2 separate regions of the Homo sapiens genome follow, and region 2 is linked to region 1. The links are contacts of gene promoters, found by promoter capture Hi-C in blood cells and fetal thymus (Javierre and others, 2016). All regions are on one chromosome and are shown on one strand. The core of a region is centred on a gene start or on the middle of the fragment in contact, and the rest is flanking DNA. Distances in the headings are between cores, read along the strand shown. Region 1 holds the start of DMXL2 (Dmx like 2). Region 2 holds the start of LYSMD2 (LysM domain containing 2).

The links. Contacts are between HindIII fragments. The CHiCAGO score rates a contact against its expected background, and 5 or more counts as called.
Region 2: a fragment that was not itself captured here is called in contact with the fragment with the promoter of DMXL2 in region 1 in 1 of 17 cell types (monocytes); the score reaches 7.0 in monocytes.

What each region holds. Positions count from the first base shown.
Region 1 is chr15:51,620,592-51,624,266 of GRCh38, forward strand. DMXL2 (Dmx like 2) reads right to left here and starts at 2,180. Exons shown (of 44, transcript NM_001378457.1): 1 at 1,868-2,180. The coding sequence starts at 1,954. RefSeq lists an enhancer at 1,318-1,727 and a silencer at 2,098-2,317. The HindIII fragment of the contact is 5,213 bases long and covers 751-3,675 here.
Region 2 is chr15:51,734,127-51,737,749 of GRCh38, forward strand. LYSMD2 (LysM domain containing 2) reads right to left here and starts at 3,529. Exons shown (of 3, transcript NM_153374.3): 1 at 3,224-3,529. The coding sequence starts at 3,496. RefSeq lists enhancers at 305-364, 375-434 and silencers at 1,235-1,304, 2,978-3,187, 3,258-3,397, 3,408-3,623. The HindIII fragment of the contact is 6,506 bases long and covers 1-3,623 here.

The DNA of each region.
Region 1 (3,675 bases), core at 930-3,429:
GAAGAAAATTATCCTAGCAGCGGTGTGGAGGATGAAGAAGTTATCGGACATGACAGTTTTGAAAGCTTTTATATTAATACCAATAAGATTGTAAAATAAGGTGGTGGTTAAGGATATGAAAAGGAGTAAATCTGGTAGACAGTGCAGAGTCAACTAGACTTCGTGAAACGCTGAATTAGGGAAGTGCAAGAAGATTTGAAAATGACTCTAAGCATCTGGTCACAAGTGGCCTACAGCATAACCACACCTGCACAGCACTAACAGTTCTTACACAGGCTTTTCCAGGCTGCATCTGAACCCGTTTATTTAGTTCTACATACCAGACCTGCCGTGAGACAGCACTCCACTTTAGATGGAAGCAGAAAACTACCACCACCATTCTAGCAGGAAAATATAACCAAAGATTCCAGCTTTGTTTCTTGATGAAAGAGGCCCACTCTTCTAACCCTGAGGAACTTCCTATCTGCACTACTGGGGAACAGGGAAATTTCTTCTCTCTATCCCCAAAAACCAAGATTCTCCACACACTTGAAGACAAAGCTCAGCTCTATATGAATATTTTAAGTCACATGTACATAAAACACAGATGACAAAAGGGGTCGTTCTAAACTGGAGCTAGGCCAAGTGGATTACACTAAAAAATTAAAATGGCTAAAAAGCAATCTTCTGGGGTTAATGTATCACAAAACGTCAAAAAATAAATTCTGTTCCAGAATGCACTGCTACATAATGATTCTGCAGTTTTGCTGAAGCTTTATTTTCCGCAGTTTTAAAAACACTGTTGGAAAGCAGACATCAAAGGGTTTTCCTTGTCTAAAAAGCATACCATTACGGAATTTCCAGTTTTATCAAGAAGAACAGTTTACAAAATATATTTAATAAAGGTCTGGCTGCCTACAGTTCCTTATAAGGAAGACCATGTATAAATTTCATTCTTTAAAAAAGAACTCAATTTATGGGAGTCTATCTATGAGTAAACGAAGCTCCAAGGCTTGGTTTAAACATTTCCACTCTCAAAAAGGACTGATGAGTCCAATCTCCTTGAGAAACATGTCTACTTCATCTAGCTTTTAAGGAGATTCTAAAACGTTATGTATACATACACTTTTCTCAAACAAGCACTGTTGTAAATTTTTCACATTGCCTTACTATATTAAAAAAAAGGCTACCTTACAGATTAAAATATTATCTAGGAGGATTACCAAACTACGACCTCCTGATAAATGAGACAGCTCTCCAAGCCACTGTGACTCTAACCTTTCCATTCTAAATCTTTCGGGCGCGGAGGATGAATTTTTCTATCTTTTTGTTGGAATTAAGATCCTGCATTATCAGGAGATACAGAGTCAGGCTTAAAGCCACAGACTCCAGCAGCTCCTCGCTGCCCTAGCACAGCGGGCAGGGGGAGCCAAGGCGCAGCATCGCCTCCACGCTCCGAGACCAACACCAAGTCTCTTCACCTCCACGCTCCGAGACCAACACCAAGTCTCTTCGCCTCCACGCCGAGAGCAGCTGCGAAACGGACGCTCTGGGGTTTCAGCCGCACCACCACTTTCCTCCACCGCAGACCGAAGGGCCGCCCTAGGAGGAGCCTTCTAGTCCAGTCACCTCAGGCCCGTTTGCTTGGGGTGGAGAGTGCGGTGGATTCCTAAGCCTTTCCCCTAACGGGTGATTTCCTACACCAGACGCAGGACCCACGGTCCCACGGGTCCCAGGGGGAACTAAACCCCAAGGCTGCAAAGGGGCCACGGGTGGGGCCCACCAACATCTCACAGCCTCCTGAGGAGGCGTGCGCCCTGGACAGGAGGTCCCTGCCCCCGCGTCTGGCCCCTGGTATCTTCCCCTAGGGCTCCCGGCCGCCGCTCACCGTGAAGGGGACATCCCCGACGCTGCCCACGGAGTAGCAGTTGTCTCCAGGGTTGACAGCTCCGGTGAGGACCTGATGCAGATGCATCTCCGGAGCCCGGGCTGGACAGAATGCGCGGGAGGTGCGACAAGCTCCGCGCCTGACCCTCCTCGGGCTGCGAGAGCCGTTTCCCTCTGTGCCTCCCTCGGAAACCCGCCCCGCGGAGGCTCTGGCTTAACTCCTCGCCCCCCTTTCGCCTTCCCTCCGCCTCGTCCCTGCCATGGGAGCTCCTCGACCGCCGCCGCCGCCCGGGTCGCCGCTCAGCTGCGGAAATGCCCGGATGTTCCCACTGCCTGCTGCACCGGCGCACAAATGCGGGAGGGCAAGGGTGCTTGTGAGGCGGGGGAGGGCACCGGGGGGAACGCGCGAGCCGGGAGCGTGCAGCAAGGGAGCGGGCCAGCGCGCGCGCCCACCGCGGGGGAGCGAGGTAGAGCCCTCCCCCCGCGGCAAAGCTCTCAGCTCAGTCTTTCTTCCCCCCATCACCCGCGTTTGCGCGTGCGCGCGCCGTGGTTTCCAGGGCAATTGCGCGCGCCACGCCGACCCGCCGTCCCGTGATTGCGCGCGCAGACGTGCGGGAGTTCCCTTGGAGCCTCCCGGGCTGTAGCCGCTGCGGACTGGGGCGGAGGTGGGGGCGGGGGCGAGTGGGGTGCAGGTCGCTCGGGGCCACGCAGCAGTCGGACGCCGGGGACGCGCCACGAGCCGGTTTTGCTGTGTTGAACGTATTCCAGAATACAGTGTGCAATGGTCAGTGCCGTTGACCTCAGAAGGACACCCGTCACCGGGAATTTCCACCTGGAGATATCTTAGATATCTTCAGTCTTTTCGAAAGTGCAGTACATAAGATATTTTATTTTACATAAACAATGTAGGCATCTTGCAACTATTTAGAGAAGCCATACTCCCCTGAAAGCTAATTATTTTGCTCCCACCTTTTGTCACGGTTATTCTAGACAGCAAAAAGCCGCCTTAGAGACGGGTGACTCCTTTCGACTTTTTTTCATGAGTAATTTCATGAATTAGCAGAATCGCCTGATTTTCCAAACTATCTGCTAAACTTTGAATGGTTGATAACAAGGATCATCAGCTCCCTGCCACAGGCCAATTCATGGCAAATGTTCTAACCCATACTATGCTTAAATCACAGGGTAAGGAAGTAGGGGACACCAAGACATAACTATCTGTAAAACCAGGCAGAACGCCAAAGGTGGTGTGATTGAGATATAAAAGTCTTTATGCACCACAGAAGAGGAAGAAGAATGTTGACTAAGGGCGTGGATAAGGCATTATGGAGACATAACCTGACATAAACGCTGAGTTTAATTTTGACAGGCTGAGATAGACAAGAAATGCTGCAAATACAGTACAGAAAATAGAGGGGGTGTTGAAGGTACAAAGATTAATGTTTGAGGCAGATGATTTATAGGGTAGGGAAAGTAAATAATACTTAGCAAGAGATCAAGGTATCCAAGTGGTCTAACTCTTGGCCTACCAAAACATATTATGGAGAGTCTTGAATGCTCCAAGAAGCCCAGATTTCACTCTGCATGCAGTGGGGGTATATCAGATGTTTCTGAGCAAAAATTTATATAATCAGAGCTGCTTTGGGAAGATGACTTTGTAGCATTTTGAAGCATAAAGGGAAGGGTGGGGAAGATTGGAGGCAAAGATCTGTCAGTCGTTGGTAATCTTTTCAGTAGAAAGTTGCAGGAGGAATGAAAAATAATACCTAATGACCTGCGGCATTCTCTCTCTTTCTCTCTCTCCCCCCT
Region 2 (3,623 bases), core at 155-2,654, 110 kb after region 1:
GAGCCAAGATCAGGCCACTGCACTCCAGCCAGGGTGACAAAGTGAGCCTTTGTCTCAAAAACAAAAACAAACAAACAAACAAAACAGAGACTCCTAGACTCCTTTTCTGGGTATTCCAATCCCATAGATCCAATGTCAGCTAGGATCCTTTATTTTTAGTTTGCCCCAGAGTATTCCTGTCCTGCCCAGGCCAATTTGAGGAACATGGATCTATTCTCACATCCTGAGATATGCCCTGCTGCCAGCCCTTCAGCACCACTTCAGAAAATGGCTCCCAGCTTGTTACCCTTGTAATCCAGGGCTGGCAACCAGGTCTCCATCTTCACCCCCTTGTCGGAGTCTCTGTTCTGGGAACTTCCTTGTACCTAGACTACGACTGGCTCTTAATCAGTCTTCCACCAAAGGACTGAAGTCCTGCCTGACACCCAGCTGGGTGGCTGAGGAGTTGCCATGGAGAGACAGGCTTTCCTGAGAGTTTCTGCTCATCTGTGCAAGATTGACAGACATGGTATGTTAAGGTCAACTGTTTGCTGAACTGACTTAATTTCTAGGTGCACTGCCTTGAGTCTCTAAGCCTCCAATATCTCATTTTCGACCTTTTAAAACAATCATTTAAATATGTTGTAGATGGTCTTGCCAGTCAACAACAGAAACCTAATTTGCTCAACTTCTTTCTGTTCAGTCAGAAGAAAAATATTTTTCTGCCTTTTTAGCTTCCACCTTAAAATCTCACAATGAGTAAACCTAATTAATATCTGCAGATATTAGACCAGTGCAGTGGCTCACACCTGTAGGCCCAGCACTTTGGGAGGCTGAGGTGGGTGGATTGCTTGAGCCCAGGAGTTCCAGACCAGCCTGGGCAACATAATGAGACCCCATTTCTACAAAAAATACAAAAATTAGCTGGGCATGTGGCTTGAGCCTGTAGTCCCAACTCCTCAGGAGGCCGAGGTGGGAAGATCACTTGAGCAGCGGCAGCTGAGGCTGCAGTGAGCCATGTTAGTGCCACTGCACTCCAGCCTGGGTAACAGAGTGAGACCCTGTCTCAAAAAAAAAAAAAATCTGAAGATATTAAAACAAGAATATCACTTCACTGTTATGGTAAGTATTATCACTTTCACTGATTCTATATTACCAGTGGAGGAGTCTCTAAAAATTTTATCAACTATAAGCCAGGGCCCAAAGTAATGAGAAATACATGTAATAAACCAGTGGTCCTCAACCAGGGGTAAATTTGCCTTCTAGAGAACATCCGGCAATGCCTGAATAGGGGTGGGAGAGTGCTACTGGCATCTAGTGGGTAGAGGCCAGAGATGCTGCTAAATATTCTACACTGCACAGGACAACCCCGTGCAACAAAGAGTTATCTGGTCTATAACATCAACAGTGCTGAGGTTGGGAAACCCTGTAATGAACTATGTGTCACTATCAATTATAGTTCCTGATTCATTATCCTTGTGTTTAATATCTTAAAATCAAAAGTCTTTATAAAAGCAACGAAAAATCTGATCTACACTTTAATTTTAAAAAGGGGTAATGAGGTTATGAGTAATAGGATCTATATTAGACATAACAGGGATTAGAAAGCATTTGATCAAAGGTGGAAAACTGCAGTAAACAGATGTATAAGAGTTATCTATAATCAACTCAAGTGAAACCACAGACGGCTGTGGGTCACAGAGAGATTGCACGGGAAGACAGCATGGGAAATAACACTCTTCTGCATGTCATAGATTTTTAGGTGCTGTCACTAGCCTAGTAAGGCAAGATGCCTGAAAACCAGATAGAAAAGACTGTCCTCCTTCAGTAGCCAGGATGCTGAGAGAGCTCCTGATAAGACTAAGATAAAAATAAGGATGGATATCAAAAGTAATATCTAGAGGAAAGCAAATGCTTTATCACTGTTAATTCAAGCTGGTCTCAATGAATGATCATACTTGGAAAATATCCTTACCTCTCATCCATCTTCTCATCTGTAAAAAGATTAATTACACCTACCTCCTGGGCTTATTGTGAAAGTTAAATAAGATAAAGATGAAACAAGACAAACGCAATGCCTGCCACACAGGAGGCATTCAGCAGAGGGTAGCTACTGGTATTTCCCAACTTCGCTTTCCTCTGCCTCTGACTCAAACCAGGCCCCATTAAGGCACATAGAGAATTGTAGCTCTATGTTCACATGTATAGAACTCCCAAGAGGGCAGAATGGGGCTCTCCATGGCATGATAGAGTCAATACATGACTGCACAGCAAGGTCCCTTTCAAAATATTTCAAAGATAGAAGGACCTGATAGGTAAACATATACCGGCTTAAATATGCAAAATACATTCTCCTTCATACTGATGCTCCTTCATTCGGTAAAGGGCCAGAAAGAGTTTCACTTTAAGGGAAAGATATAGATAAGATCCTCTTTCTTCCCATTGCTGTCTAAGGTGCTTCAGGAAAGAACACTGAAAACTGATACAGATCCCAAATGTAAAAAGGCCATCACATAGCTCACAGTTAATTATAAGTAATTTTAATGAAACAATTTGTTCCCTCAGGTTTCCATGTTCTTCCCAGAGGTGTAATGCTATACACCCAAGACACACACACTTATAAATTTGTAATAAACGCAGCCCTCCAGCTCACCACAGTTCTTGGCTGCTGCTTAGCGACAGGTGTCACATTCGCGGTTGCCAGTGAGCCCAGAGGGTGTAATTTCACTTCTACATAAAGAAGCATAATCGATAGAACCAGAACCACCCAGTAGGAACAACTGCACCATTCCTGACTCATCACGGAGCTTGTTTTCACAGACAACAAAATTCACCTCAGTTGGGCTTTGCGTAAATATAGAGTAGTGTGATGGGGCCTGCAAATTGGGTGAAGGTGGTTCACGGGGATGCCAAAGCCCTAGTCCTCTTCGGCCTCCCTCACGCGACAGATCTAGTCTGAGCCTGGGCGGGGCACCGGGAACTCGATGCAGCTACCTAGGGAGGGAGCCCTGGCGGTCCGCCCCTCCCGCTGCAGGACCAGCTTTGGCGACCACTGCGGTGGCCAGCAGCGCGCGCTGAGCGAGCCCTGGGAGCCGAGCCGCCCGGGGACGCACGGCCGTCCCTGCGACTCCCCATCCCCCAAACCCCCACCCGCAGTCCCACCCCCACCCCCACCGCACCCCGAGCCGCACCGCCTCCTGCGCGGTAGCTGCCAGCCCGGGCCGCGGCGGCGCGCCCTGCTCACCGTGACACCGTACTTGAGCGCGATGCCCTGCAGCGTGTCGCCCGCGCGGACCCGGTGCTCCACATGGCGCTCGATGACGCCGGCGCCCAGCGGCGCCCGCACGCTGGCGGTGCTGCCGTACGAGCGGGTCTTGGTGCGGGCCAGGCTCAGCGACAGCTCGGCCTCCTCGGACTCGGAGCCGGAGCGCGAGCGCGGCGGCGGCGAGGGGGCCGAGGGCCGCGGCGCGCGGGGGCCGCCTTCCCGCAGGGACAGTGCGGGCGAGGAATCCGCCATGGGTCCTGCCGAGGCCGCCGGGTCGGGGAGCTTGCCAAGGGGGCGGCGCCTCCTCCTCCTCCGCCGCCGCCGCCGCCTCTTCCTCTTCACAGGGGCTGCAGCAGGCCGTTCCGCGGGGGCGGCGGAC